5 separate regions of the Homo sapiens genome follow, and all the other regions are linked to region 1. The links are contacts of gene promoters, found by promoter capture Hi-C in blood cells and fetal thymus (Javierre and others, 2016). All regions are on one chromosome and are shown on one strand. The core of a region is centred on a gene start or on the middle of the fragment in contact, and the rest is flanking DNA. Distances in the headings are between cores, read along the strand shown. Region 1 holds the start of ARL14EP (ARF like GTPase 14 effector protein). Region 2 overlaps DCDC1 (doublecortin domain containing 1). Region 3 overlaps DCDC1 (doublecortin domain containing 1). Region 4 overlaps DCDC1 (doublecortin domain containing 1). Region 5 overlaps LOC107984419 (a long non-coding RNA gene).

What was found. The method cuts DNA at HindIII sites, captures the fragments that hold promoters and counts their contacts. A CHiCAGO score of 5 or more calls a contact.
Region 2: a contact is called between a fragment that was not itself captured here and the fragment with the promoter of ARL14EP in region 1, in 1 of 17 cell types (endothelial precursors). The highest score is 6.8, in endothelial precursors.
Region 3: a contact is called between a fragment that was not itself captured here and the fragment with the promoter of ARL14EP in region 1, in 4 of 17 cell types (M0 macrophages, M1 macrophages, M2 macrophages and 1 more). The highest score is 7.9, in M0 macrophages.
Region 4: a contact is called between a fragment that was not itself captured here and the fragment with the promoter of ARL14EP in region 1, in 7 of 17 cell types (monocytes, M0 macrophages, M2 macrophages and 4 more). The highest score is 17.0, in monocytes.
Region 5: a fragment that was not itself captured here is called in contact with the fragment with the promoter of ARL14EP in region 1 in 2 of 17 cell types (megakaryocytes and endothelial precursors); the score reaches 8.4 in megakaryocytes.

What each region holds. Positions count from the first base shown.
Region 1 is chr11:30,321,854-30,324,553 of GRCh38, reverse strand. ARL14EP (ARF like GTPase 14 effector protein) reads right to left here and starts at 1,450. Exons shown (of 4, transcript NM_152316.3): 1 at 1,352-1,450. It overlaps ARL14EP-DT (ARL14EP divergent transcript), which reads left to right and starts at 1,608. Exons shown (of 2, transcript NR_187437.1): 1 at 1,608-1,636. RefSeq lists a silencer at 1,221-1,350 and enhancers at 1,421-1,670, 1,183-1,788. The HindIII fragment of the contact is 9,349 bases long and covers 1-2,700 here.
Region 2 is chr11:30,873,121-30,876,004 of GRCh38, reverse strand. The region is part of intron 38 of DCDC1 (doublecortin domain containing 1); the gene reads left to right. All of the region lies in intron 1 of LOC124902656 (a long non-coding RNA gene), which reads right to left. Among named protein-coding and RNA genes, the nearest start is that of LINC02859, 140 kb to the right of the region's middle. The HindIII fragment of the contact is 947 bases long and covers 1,141-2,087 here.
Region 3 is chr11:30,941,840-30,944,539 of GRCh38, reverse strand. The region is part of intron 21 of DCDC1 (doublecortin domain containing 1); the gene reads left to right. Among named protein-coding and RNA genes, the nearest start is that of LINC02859, 210 kb to the right of the region's middle. The HindIII fragment of the contact is 2,257 bases long and covers 255-2,511 here.
Region 4 is chr11:30,923,640-30,926,429 of GRCh38, reverse strand. DCDC1 (doublecortin domain containing 1) reads left to right here. Exons shown (of 39, transcript NM_001387274.1): 23 at 1,022-1,121. Among named protein-coding and RNA genes, the nearest start is that of LINC02859, 190 kb to the right of the region's middle. The HindIII fragment of the contact is 1,036 bases long and covers 983-2,018 here.
Region 5 is chr11:30,854,257-30,856,956 of GRCh38, reverse strand. All of the region lies in intron 3 of LOC107984419 (a long non-coding RNA gene), which reads left to right. Among named protein-coding and RNA genes, the nearest start is that of LINC02859, 120 kb to the right of the region's middle. The HindIII fragment of the contact is 3,945 bases long and covers 1-2,700 here.

The DNA.
Region 1 (2,700 bases), core at 201-2,700:
CCACCACTAACAAAACAGCAAAACAGCCACTAACAAAACAACAGCAGAGGGAATTGAGGATTAATTAGGGAACTCACTTTTTCTTCCTAAATTTGTAGGGGAGATGCAGAAATACCCGTTCCAATATGTTAATTTCCCTTAACATAGTTTTTTAGTTTGTTACCAGTCTCCTTATTAGTGGGAAAAGTAACATTTAGAGGAAATTTAACAAAACAAAAAATTTACTTCGTTTTTAGGTCAACTGATGTCTCTTTTATGAAAAACATAAAAAAAGTTTTCATGAAATGTTTTATGAAAAAAATTAAAGGCTTTTCTTGGCATAGGGTCTTACAACTTACACAGCGTCTTCCCAGATTATCTCTTATTTAATAAAAATATAATTTAATCTACCCCTACTCCCCAAATCAGGAGCTTTAGTTATGGGTACATACGCCTACAAAAGTCACGCATCCTGCAACTGTGAACTTTTTGTGCCTGTCATCTTCAAATACTGATTACCTATAACATGACAATTGGCCCAAAGGCAAAGAGGAGAGTCTCAATCCTCAGGAAGATCTAGGTACAATAAGAAAGGTAAAGGCAATTTAAAACAAAAATATAGTCCATAACACCATTGAAAAGATTTGGTTCAAGTGTGGTAGTCAGGACATGCCAGGTACAGTGCTTAGGGCAAACATCATTTCAGGAACCTTCATAGCCACCCTGAGGAAAGTACTATCATTCTCATTTACAGATGAAGAAACTCAAGCCTAGAGCTGTTGTTATCATGCCTAACAGAGTGCCCCCAAACCCTGCAATGATTCCCAACCCAACCCTGTAAGAGGCCACATACATTTCTTCCTTAGTTCACGGCTATTTACAAATGACTAAAACCACCAGATCCGTCCAGTGGGCACCTACTAAGTTCATGGTACCGGGATGGAAAAATAAACATTAGCCTTTGGCCTCAAACGGCCAGGGTTGAAAGGATTCTGATTTGAAAAATTAAAAACAAAAATAGCAGAGATAAAGGCTGTCTACGGAGTTCAAGGCCACAATAACCCTAAGTAGTTCACGTCAAAATCGTAGCTTTGAAGGTCCTGGGCCTACAGGACAGGCGACGACCCTCAGAGAGGTCAGAGGCGGCAGAACCTGTGCTGGGCTTTGACACAAGGCGTTGCGTCGCAGATGAACTACGCGGGGGTAGGGGTGAGAGGCCCCGGCCAGCAGCTGGAAATCCCCCTCACGTGTGCGGGCCTCCTCTTCCACCTCTCCCCGGGTTCCCCCGTTACGCCGCCGGGCTCCCTCGCCACCCAGGGGCCTGTCTCCACTCTCCCACTCCTCTCCAGGGCCTCCCCCGTTCCCCTTCCACCTTAGCTTGAGCTCTCCTCCGCCCGGCTTCGGGCAAGATGCGAGTCCACACAGGCCACACTCGACCGACCGCTTCCCAGCCAGTCCCCGCGCTACCACTGAGAGGACGGCAAGCGCGGGCTAGAGGAGCTCAACGCCACCACAAAGAGACGTCCGGGAGAAGCCTAGAGCGGACACGAGGCTGGCCGCCTCCGGGGACGGAAGGGGCGGGGCGGTGTGAAGTGGCAAATGATTCAAGGCGAGGCAAGAGGTGCTTCAGATGCTGTCTTTTGCAGTCCTCCGAGAGGTTAGGGATGTGGGAGGTCCCTGGGGGCCATCTCTTACAAGACACAGTTTCCACTAAATTGGATCGTATTTGTACATCTCTACACCTGTGCGTGATAGTAAACTTTTGCACCCAAATACCCCGACCCCTGAAGGAGAGTGTGAGTTAAAAGGATCTGAAGAACGGACCCTTTGTTTAAGGTCTCACATTCTATTTCTTTAATTCAAGCGAAATATATTCCAAAATGCATCTTTTATTGTAAGCTATAAAAATAGCTATTACTTCGAGTAAAATGTAGGCTCCAGGAAGATGCTTGTAAATTTTCTCAGAACAGAAATGGTATTTTTATTGTATCCTTATTGTCTGTCACAGTATAGGTGCTCATTAATTTTTAAAGTGGGTTTTATTATCTAGAATCCAGGAGAACTGAAAGTCTCTTAAAGATTCTTGGCCTTTTAATTATCTTAAGGTCGGGATAGCAGGGAAACAAAAACTTGTTTTAAACTCCCAGTGAAAAATGAGGAACAGGTAAATAAGACAAGCCCCACCAAGGCCCAAGCGTGCTAGTAATTCTCTGCATCTACTGTAAGCTGTTTTCTGCAGTGCGTCTATGGTCCTCCCACCACTTTCATACTGCTCGCCGACTAGGCAAGCGATTTGATGCCTAGAACTAGGGAATGACAGAAAGGAAAAAACAATGAATAGTTTCTTCAACTGTGTCTGCAGGAGGTTGCATTCTGTAATTCTTTTACTGTTTACTTTGTGGTTGGCACTTTGTTAAGCAATGATTAGACAAAAACAAAATTTATTTCTGCTTCCAAGGAGCTCACAGACTAGTGAGAGAGGAATAAACAGTTAATCACAGTGTGGTGTGAAAAGTGTCATAACAGAAACACATGGATATAAACAGGATAAAATGATAGGGGCTAAAGCAGGAGCGTTCTGGGAGGAGATTAATGCCTGCATGGAACTTAATTTGATGCAATTGTGACTTCCTAGTAAACTAGGCAAGCTATCCTAAAGGTAATGAAACAGAGAAGGCTCACAGATCAAATTAAGATTATTAAATAATATAGCCTATTCAA
Region 2 (2,884 bases), core at 365-2,864, 550 kb before region 1:
TGATTAAGTGTTAGGGTAAAGTTGCAATGTTTCTAAGCAAGTAAACTAAAAGCAATATGCCTGAAAGTCTGGCAGTCTTTCTGAGAATAACTAACAGTATTTATAAATAAGAAGCATTTTATCTGGATGCTTATGTCAGCTTTGTAAAACAGGATATATTAGTAATGATTCAAAATGCAAAGGTAGCTTTGAAGGGCAATAACCCTAAATCTCTGTTTTTTTCCTTGATTGTTTATCATAATTAAATATTGTTTCCCTAATTAAGAAAACAAAGCAACAATCAAACAAATGACAGCAGAAGGATAAATATAAATATATTCTCTTTTGTCAGAGACTCACTTAGAAATTGTGGCTCGTGGCTGTTGAAGCATTTGTGAGCTAACCTTCAATAATAGCCCAGGTGTGCTGAGTGCCATTGAGAGATTTGTGATTCACCATGGCAGCATTTTTTTTTTTTGCATCATTTGGAAGCGAATGATCAAAACACACAAATCTGCGTCATTTGGAAGCGAATGATCAAAACACACAAATCTGCGTTATTCTAGTACATCACAAAATCAGATGCAAATGTCCCCAGTTATGGGAAATTTAGACTCAGTGGTGACTCTCAGTTGTTTCTATTGAACCGCTGGTTCTGGTTCCCTCCTGGCTTTGAAAATATCTCAACCCCGTGTCCCCTCTACGAGGCTAGGTAAGTAGAATGAAAGAGTAACAGTTTTGTTCTCGACACAGTAAATTAGAATTCTGCATAAATGGCATGGTTTGGGGCTGTGTGGCCATAAGCAACTACAAAGCAAGATCAACAAAGACCACTCAGGAGAAAGCTGATGAAAATAAATGGACTGACCGTGTAACCGTAGGTATTCAGTGGGTGCCTGCTGGCAGCTATAACATTTTCTAATTCTACGAGTCTGGAATATGAAACTACTATCAAGGCTGTCACCCTGTACCAAATGTATAAATAGAAATATATGAGAGAGGAAATACATATGCCCATAGTGCAACTGGGTTGAAGGAGAGAGGAAGAAAGGAGACGAGAAATTCTATATCTATGGCAAGTAAAATGGTGATTCTGAATTGGATGTGCTATTGCTCATTGTCTGTGGTATCCCTCTGTGGGCTTGCAGGCAGATACAAGCTTCAGTCGAGCTGTTGGACCTATCAGGTCCTAGCTTGCCAGTCCTAGAGCAGTAATTTCAATGTAGGAAACTGATATTAGGGTTTTAGCTCAGGTGCACATGCTCAGGAATGTCAGCTGTGTGAGACCAGCTGAGGCAGTTCGGTGGTCATCTCTGGTGCCACCACTGGAAGCTGTGTTTTAAAGGAAATTTCCTGAAGGGCACTGTCCTTTACTCAGTGACTATGCTGGAGAGAGGTGGAGGAGAGGAGGGAACTTCCCAGGGCTCCTAGGTTAGTGCCTCTAAAAATCTAAAATCTGATTATATCTCTGTTCTCATTTCCATTACTTTTTCTCCCTCTTCCCTCCTCCCTCTTCCTCCCTGCCTCTTGGCCTTTTCCCGTCTTCCTGGCTTTTCTCCTCTAAGAGTCTTTAAATCCCATCTTTCATTTAAAAAGAAAAAACTGTTTCCTGGAACAATTTGTGTATTGGCAAGAGATACTTCCTTAATATGATTCTCAAATTTGAGTGTGCACAAGAAACACCTGGTGTGCTAGATAAAATACAGATTTCCAGGCTTGGTCCCAGCACTGGTCATAATCTCTATGCCTAAGGTATAAGGAATCTGCATTTTAACAAGCACCTGGGAAGAAGCACGTCGTGACCACAGTGTAAGAAACTTTGCCAAGAGTTTTAGGCCTGCCAGGGACAGTGCTGTTTATTATCAGCAGGGCATGGCCCAAGTGGTAAGTACCAGTTTTAAGAACAAAGCCTGTATTCAGGGGCTATGAAGACAATGAAACATTTGCTTTGTATGTGAGTATTTGAGTCTAAGTAGCCTCATGTTTTCTCATCACAGTTCCCTTAAGAAATGATGGAAATGTTCTTGAGTCAGATATAACCACCCAGAGATTTTAACTAGGACCCAGACATTGGAAGGCTAAACAAGTGAGTTTGAGGTGCTGAAGCTTTCCATGTTCATTAAGCTGCCTTCAGTGCTGATAAAATCTTGCTATTTTAAAGGTCACAGGAATAATATCAGTGCTGTGGTACATATATCAGGGAGCGGAGTACTTTTGAGGGTGGGGAAAATAACCAGCTTCCTGGAGTTTTCTTATACATTTTTATATGTACAAAGAAGGAGAGCTTTGGAACAAGGAGAGGATTTCTATTTTCCATCATTGCTCTTTCTCCTGTGAAGGAGCTACTTGAACATCTCTTTTCTGTTTGCCCTAAGTCTAGTTAGCAAGGAAGTGTGAGCACCTGCATCCCTGGCAGGCTCACCCAAGAGTGTGAAAATCCACAGGACGTTATTTCAGTTCGGTAACAAATTCTCTTAGAAAAATGAATTTTCAAGATAGTTCTCTTGCCAGACCAATGAAATCCATATAGCTTGAGAGACAGACACTCTCCTTGGAAGACAGACACTTTCCTTGGAAAACAGAGAATACAAAGAAAATTAGTTTTTCTAACACTTAATTCATGTATATACCAGTTTGTTCTCTCTCTCTCTCTCTCTCTCTATATATATATATATATATATGTATATACACACACATTTTTATATATTTATACATTTTTATATACAAATATAAAAGTTTAAATTTTTCCTTGCCTCTTGTTTAGTGTAGTCATTTTGATAGGATAAATCCCATTGTGGATTTTGATTTTTATTACTCTATCTTCTACTACCCCACCCTCTAAGCTAGCCCAGCTAACAGCTTTCCCAATGTTAAAACTGTGCGTGTGTATATATATGCAGAAGAT
Region 3 (2,700 bases), core at 134-2,633, 620 kb before region 1:
CTATTTCAGTGAACAGTTAAATGCAATTCATATTTTGGTTGGAAAGCTTTCCATATAAATAAACTGTGATTAGGAAATGTGACACTCATATTGTGGCATTCAGAATACTTTGGGTACTATAAGCATAAATAATAATTTTATACCGGATTTAAGTTTCCAACTTTACTATTTATCTAACCATTATGTCTTACATATTTAGGCAATGCAGACAGAGCAAGGAAGGAGATAGACTTGGTTCCTAAGTTCATGAAGCTTACAGATTAAGAAGTATAAGCTATGAGTCAACAAGGAAGAAACAAGAAAAGGAAGGAGACAGAGTTGATGAATAAAGGAGAAGGAAGGGAGAGAGAAGAAACTCACAGAAAAAGTTTGGTGTTCCAGAAATCAAGGCTATGCATTGAGCCAGTTTATTTAGTCATATAGTCACTGTGAAGAAAGATCAGCTGGGCTGATTGTCCAAATGGGCCTGAAAATTAAGTAAAAATACTAAATCTAGGAAAACCATCTAACAAACAACACCCTGAGTGAGACTCCAATTCTCCTGTTAGTTCCTTGACAAGAAACTTTCAAAATAGAATGATGACTAAGGAAGTATGAACAATATAGAAATATGGAATTATCTTGGTAATGTCTCAGACTGCATTAATACTAAAAACTATGTACCTCTCAGTGGTGACAGCTGCTTTGAGAACTGATTTCATGCTGTCCTCACTTTTAAATATTATTCATACTAAAAGGCAATTGATAATATTTTTATGAACAAACAGCATTTAATATATCTAGGGATATCAGTATTTTTTAAATATGGTAAAGCCTTATTGAAAACCAACATTAATAAATTCTTTTGGTTTCTTTTGTGACTAAGTTCACTGGAAAAAATTAGAGGAACTCAAGTTATTTTCTCACTCTATGGGGGAAAAGTTGTGAATTGAAAAATTGTGCTTCTAAACACTTAAAGGTAAGGAGCAATGGATTTTCATATTCAAGGAAGGAATTGTGGTAAAAAGTAAGATTAAAAAGATGTACGATTTTGGAATGAGCTGTTGGATAGTTATTTTAAAGTATCTAAATTAAAATATATCCATTTGGACGGGCCATGCCAGACAGAACAAAGCTAAAAGTTTATTACTCTATTGAGAGATGATAATAAGTAGCTACCAGAATAAAGAGGGGGGAAAAGGAGACGTGGGAAGGCTCAGGAGAGAACATTGAAGAATATATTATATTGTTAATAGCAAATAGATAAAAGAGGACTAATATAGCTATGAAACTTAGATTGCTGGTTAAGAGCTGGACTCCCAAAACGAACACATGCTCTCTCTCTTATGAGAGAGAGATAAAAAAAAAAAGAAGAATGATCAATTTAAGGGAGCACCACAGCTCATCTAGGGTCTCCCGACTGTGGAGCTGTGACATAGAGCAGTGTGAACACAGAGAAAACCAATAAAGACATGCATGGGAACATAAGAATTCCAACTGAGAAAATGGAGGGAGAAGAACCAGCACTCCAGTCAGTTTAATTACATATCTGTACTTTTTGTTGTCCTTCATTATCCCAACGCCTTATTTCTCTATGTCTATGAAGGACAGAATGAAAGTGCCTGAAACACCAGAACGAGAATTAAAGCAGCTTAAAGGAAGAACCGACAGTAGTAGTTAACATTTGTAAAGTTTTGAAACCCAAGTTAACGTTTTAATCTCATTTAATTGGGTTTCTGTGATGTCTCACATTAAAAAGAGAAGACTCTTGGGCTTCCTTCGTCTAACTGGAAAGTAAAAGAAGCCATCCAAAGACAGCAGTGCTTCAGTAGTGCCAAAGCCAATGTCTGCAGATGCTACCATTTGCCATGGGACAAGTTGGAAGTGAGAAAATGTAGAAATAGCTAGGAGCTAAGACAGCACACTTCAGATATGTTCATCAGAAATATAGCATACTTGGGATATTGAAAAGAACAGTTACACACCCTGAATCTATGAATCGACATGTATCACAGACAAAGCATGAAGGAGAATCTTGTTTCTTTTGCCTTTCCCTGCCATGGTTCAGAAAGAAAGAGATATATTAGCTATTTTACACCAAGACTTCAATGCAACAGTAATTTTCTAATGAGATTCCCTCACCATCTCTCTCACCTACCCAACCCTTGCTTCATGATCTTTTATGACTGAAACTAGTATAAAAGTTGATTTTCTCCATCAACTAAATTGTTCAATATCTCCGCTATAGAATAGTTACAGACAAATCCCAAACATACTTATTGAAGTTATGTGACTCCATCCCACTACTTCCCTTTATACAACAGGCCAATTTCAAATAAAAATATACAATGAAGTTGTCATAACCTTTGATAATTTATTCTCAGTAACCATAATAAGAAAAAACAGCCCCATGTTGCTCCATTCATAGATAGCAGACACTTATCTAAATAAACACTTGATCATCTACCCTCTGCAATATTATTTCTGTACTGGTGAAAGTTTCTCAGTGAGGTTTAGGAATAAAATGAAGCTTCTGTAGTTCAAATTTTTCTTATTTAGAATTGTGTTAAGTCACCCTTATTGTTTGTCGCTGTTGTTAACATGTTTACCAAGCAAGATATTCTAGTAAAAATATAAAGGAAAAAACATTTAAACTGAAATCATTCTGCTCATCTGATTTTTAAACACTTATTTATACTGCTTTTCTCCTAATTAAATGCA
Region 4 (2,790 bases), core at 251-2,750, 600 kb before region 1:
GAAAAGCAGACCTGATAACACCACATATCTGCTCTAATGCCTTCAATGGCTTTCTGCTGCTTATGGGCTAGAAGGCAGGTTCCTCAGTCTAGAATCCTAAGTACTTTCAGTTGGTTTCTGTTTTCTTTTTCAGTTTCATCTGGTCCATACCCTCCTCATGTCCATACACTCAGCTCCAGTCTAGCGCTTTTTGATGAAATCCTGTTTATCCTTTAAAACCCAACCCAAATGCCACTCCCTTAGATAAGGCTTCTCTGGAAAAATTGTTTTCCCCTCTGTTCTCACAGCACGCTGGGCAGGTGCCTATGGCAGCACCTACGACTTCATATTACACTTCAATTGCTCACCTTTCTCTACCCTGACCAGACTCGGAGCTCCTCAGGGAACTACAAAACTGTCATCATCTCAATATCCACAGGGCTTGTCCGGTGCTTGTTTGGGAAGGCAGGGGGTTGTGGGAGTGGGAAATCAGTGTTCAGTGTTTAACCAGGCTAAAAACGTCTGTTTCAAAGGTAGTTGAAACAGACTACCCTCTGGTGGAGGGAGCTGAGGAACTTGGTGACAAATTAGACTTTGACAACCTTGGAGAAAGAACAAGACTACATCAGAAAAAGCCAAGGAAAAATTTTTTTAGGTAGGAGAAAGAACGCAGGCACAGAAATAGAAAAGTGTGGGGCATACCAAGGAACTAAAAGTCAATAGCAGTGTGTCTAGCTATTTATTGGTCATGTCTGGGACTGTGCTAAGAGCTCTTTTCAAAATCAACCTTTAATCTTCACAGAAACCCTGGAAGGTAAGAAATCTAGCCTTAGACAGGTTAAATAATTTGCCCAAGTGCCACAATTTGGAGAGGAAAATGAGACTCAAATGGGTCTGATGGGCCCCAGAGTCCAGCTCATGACTAACAGTCCTGCAGAGAGAGTTGTCATTATGGATTCAGGCCCCAGATTTCTTTTATTTTCTCTCTTTGCTGCTGGAAGCTTTCTGTATGCAAGGTCAATTTTTGTGTCTTTTATTACAGGTGCACTGAGATTTTAAATTTACCTTCTGCAGCTCGGAGATTGTACAATGAAAAGGGGAAGGAAATATTTGCCTTAAAAGACCTGCAAAGAGATGAACTGGTAAAGACATGGATTTGAAACTGGCAATATTAATTTATTAATACCCCATCCAAGAAAGAATCCCCTTAAATATAAGTCTTCAAATGCTTACCATTTTAATTCTTATTTTCTCTCAGAATTATCCTAACTGAGCAAACATCAGAAAGTAATACTAACAGCTAACATTATTCAGAGCTTCCTATATGTCTGGCATGGTTTTCAGAGTGGTATATAAATTAAACTTTTTTTTTTTTTTTGAGATGGAGTTTCACTCTGATACCCAGGCTGGAGTGCAGTGGCGCAGTCTTGGCTCACTGCAACCTCTGCCTCCCATGCTCAAGCAATTCTTCCACCTCAGCCTCCAGAGTAGCTGGGATTATAGGCATGTGCCACTATGCCTAGCTGATTTTTTGTATTTTCGGTAGAGATGGATTTCAACATGTTGCTCAGGCTGGTCTCACACTCCTGAGCTCAGGTGATCCACCTGCCTCAGCCTCCCAAAGTGGTGGGATTACAGGTGTGGGCCACCGCGCCCGGCCGAATTAATCTACTTAATGTTCATCATGATCCTAGACTCTAGAAATTAAGGAAGAAACTGGAGAAGGCCAAATTGTTAATCCTTTGTAATTTCTATCTCCTGCTCTGAAGGAGGTAAATTCTCTACTCTTTTTGAGACCTTCAAAATGTAGTTGTTTAATGGTTTTTTACTAAATGGTAATTTCACTTTTTCAGGACAAAATTATGTCTACTTTTTTCATACACTCTATTTGGTGACTGGAGAAGGCTGAAAAGTGGAAGGACTTTAGCAGCCCAGCCTTCCCCCTCATTTATAGAATTTGAGGCATTGGTTTGAAAAATTAAAAAAAAAGATACCTTCCTTGATTGATGCCTACAATTCTTTGAACAGAGAACAAAGCTTCTACCATTTCGTCAGAACTCAACTGAGGCCCTGAACCTAAATACTGGAGAGAGTCTTAAACAGAAGTATCAATGGCCAACATCAGAGGCAGAATCGCAGGGTGGAGAGTCTGTTGTTCTCAGAGACTGCTAGATCTCATTTTGAATCCTAATGCCATCTCTCCAAGTGTTTTGTTTGTTTGCTTTTAGTGTTTTTGTTTGGTCTGCTGTGCTATTCACTGTGGGTTTTTTAGAGAATGAATTTAAGGTAGATTACATTAAATCATACAATACAAAAAGTTAATTTAATGGTAAGTATAGATGAGGCCACCATGGCAAAGCAGGTATGAGTGGAAGGAGGATAAGATGGAGCCAGGAGTGATTGTATATTTGCTAGAAACTAATCTGTCACTGCTCTGAAGAGTAACATGAAGATGGAAACATAAACAGTTAGTTACATGATTAAATATGTCCAAAAGAGAAAAAGAAATCCGTTGTTCAAAATAAGAAATTTTTGCCTGGGTGCAGTGGCTCATACCTGTAATCCCAGCACTTTGGGAGGCCGAGGTGGGTGGATCACCTGAGCTTAAGAGTTCAAGACTACCCTGAGCAACGTGGCGAAACCCTGCCTCTACTAGAATACAAAAAATTAGCTGGGCATGGTGGCAGGTGCCTGTAATCCCAGCTACTCAGGAGGCTGAGGCACGAGAATCACGAGCCCTGGAGGCAGAGGTTGCAGTGAGCCGAAAGCATGCCACTGCACTCCAGCTTGGGCTACAGAGTGAGACTCCAT
Region 5 (2,700 bases), core at 152-2,651, 530 kb before region 1:
GTGTTTTACTCAAAGCATCAGGTTGCTCTTTAGACTTCTTGGTTGCTTTGGAAATTTTGATGGTGCTTTTTGGAGAGTGGCTTGGGAAGCCAAAAAAGAGTTGAGGGCAATTACTGCTTTAACCAAAACAATAGAACAGCAGGAAGTTCAGTGCAGTCCCCTAGCTTCTCCCCTTCTTTACTCATTTAATACTGGAGAAGTCTGTGAATTATGGTATACACTGAATTTCCAACTTCGTGGACATTGGCCCTTTTCATTATCTTAAGCTCTTTTCATTGCTCCGTTTCTGGGCCTTATGGGAAATGATTCAAGCACTCCATGGAAGATGATCAATTCTCAAGCTAACCCCAGGCAAGTATGAAGAATTCTCCCAAAATCACATGATAGCAAGCTGATAAGATTTCTCTCATCTTCAGTCAGTGAGAAGACCAAACTGCTTCAACAAGTTTGCTTCCTCAGGGATGGGTGTGGTGGCTCACTCCTGTAATCCCAGCACTTTGGGAGGCCCAGGCAAAAACATCACTTGAGCCCAGGAGTTCGAGACCAGCTTGGGCAACAGAGTGAAACCCCATCTCAAAAAGAAAAGAAAAAGAAAAAAAAAACAGTTTACTTCCATAGCTGCTACAGCTCTCCTAACAGTCCTAGAACTCTGGAAAGTCAGTAATCACCATAACTGAGTTCACTCTGCCCTTTAGTAACAGCATAATTAATTCTGTTAGGATTACGTCAATGAAAACATGTGTAAAACGGTGTCATAATACTAACTGTAAAATTCAGTGGCAAAATCCAGAGTGTTCTGAAGTAGCAGATCTCTGCTTCTTTAGGGCAAGAGTTCTCTTTAGTTTTGCCCATTCTTTTATCTCGGTCCCTAGCTTAGTGCTCAGCACATGGTAAACAGTCAATAACTACTTTTTGAACATCAGCTTTAACCTAACATAGAGGTGCCTTAAAAATGCCTAATCCTTCAAGAGGTTGTGAAACATCATGTATCTTTAAAATTGTCAGCTACTTTGAATTGTGAAGTCTTGTTTTTCTATTTGCTCCACACCTTAACCCCCTTAGATAAAATAGGCTACTTTTATTTTTCACCAGTTTGTCTTTCCACTACTGTCAATGGTAACTCAAACCTAAACCCTTTGATGGAGATATTTTCTTGTTTTAAATCGCCGCAGATGAAATGTTTAAAAGGAATTCCAAATTTTGGTCTCTTTCAAACTGACTCTGTGCTGAATATGTAACGTTACCTTTTAAATTTAGAGATTTTACTGGCTAAGATTTGTCACTTGGACCTCAAATTTTAGGAAGAAAATGCTAGATTATAATTCAAAAGATCAGTTTTACATTTTGTATGTAATATAGCCCACTAGGTGGCATATGAACACATGGAAAACTCGGTCTATGTATTAAAGATGAATCCAGTCTACTGTTTTAAAAATAGGTTTTAAATCCCGTTGAACTATGTGGTTGTAATAGTATTGAAACTCTTAGCATTTGTGAACTGGAAAATTTGGTGGTGACAGAACTGTGTTTCTGTATTAGATAAGAGATGTTCTAATAGAATCCTGCTGCTCCTTTTGATGGAATACCGTTCTGAAATTGCATCCAAGGATGAAAAAGTTGGTACCGTGGCACCCTGTCAAGTAGCTCCTGTTGCTGTGAGGTGTGATTAAAAGACACATAAGCCAGCAGAAAATGTGACACAAAGGGCATCTATATAAAAAATTAACAGACTACGTGATATCATTTAGGCCAGATTTAGAATCACAATAAAGACCTTGTTTTAGTCTGTTTTGTGCTACTATCACAGAATACCACAGACTGGGTAATTTATAATGAACAGAAATTTATTGGCTCACAGTTCTGGAAGCTGAAAAGTTGAGTATCAAGGTGATGGCACCTAACAAGTGTCTTCTGGCCGCATCATCACATGGCAGAAGGCGAGAGGGTGAGAGACGGAGCAAGAGGAGGCTAAAGGCACCCTTCCTAACAGTACCAATCCCACCATGGAGGTGGAGCCCTCATGGCCCTCAGCCCCCAGTACTGTTATGATAACAATTAAAATGTCAACATGAGTTTTGAAGGAGACAAACATTCAAACCATGGCAGCCCTCTTCCAGCATTCAGCATTTCTGGGCTAAGGAAATGGAAGCAGTTTGGATGAGGAAAGGAAGGCTTCCAGAAGAATCCCTCCTCCAGTGGGAGCAGAGCTGTGCCTGTTAAATGACATAGGTTTCTCCTTGACCAAACTCTACTCAGGCTCTTCTGAACTCTTTTTTTCAACTAGTCCTCTACTTTTGGACTTCTGTGTTCATCTTGGCATTGTCTAGCTCTAGCAAGAACACTGCTGGCCGAGCACGGTGGCTCACGCCTGTAATCCCAGCACTTTGGGACGCCGAGGAGGGCGGATCACAAGGTCAGGAGATCGAGACCATCCTGGCTAACACGGTAAAACCCCGTCTCTACTAAAAATACAAAAAAATTAGCCAGGCTCAATGGCGGGCACCTGTAGTCCCAGCTACTCGGGAGGCTGAGGCAGGATAATGGCGTGAACCCGGGAGGCAGAGCTTGCAGTGAGCCAAGGTCACGCCACTGCACTCCAGCCTGGGTGACAGAGCGAGGCTCTGTCTCAAAAAAAAAAAAAAAAGAACACTGCTAAGTCAGTTCAGCTATCCTCCATCTTTGATCACCTTTAATATCTAA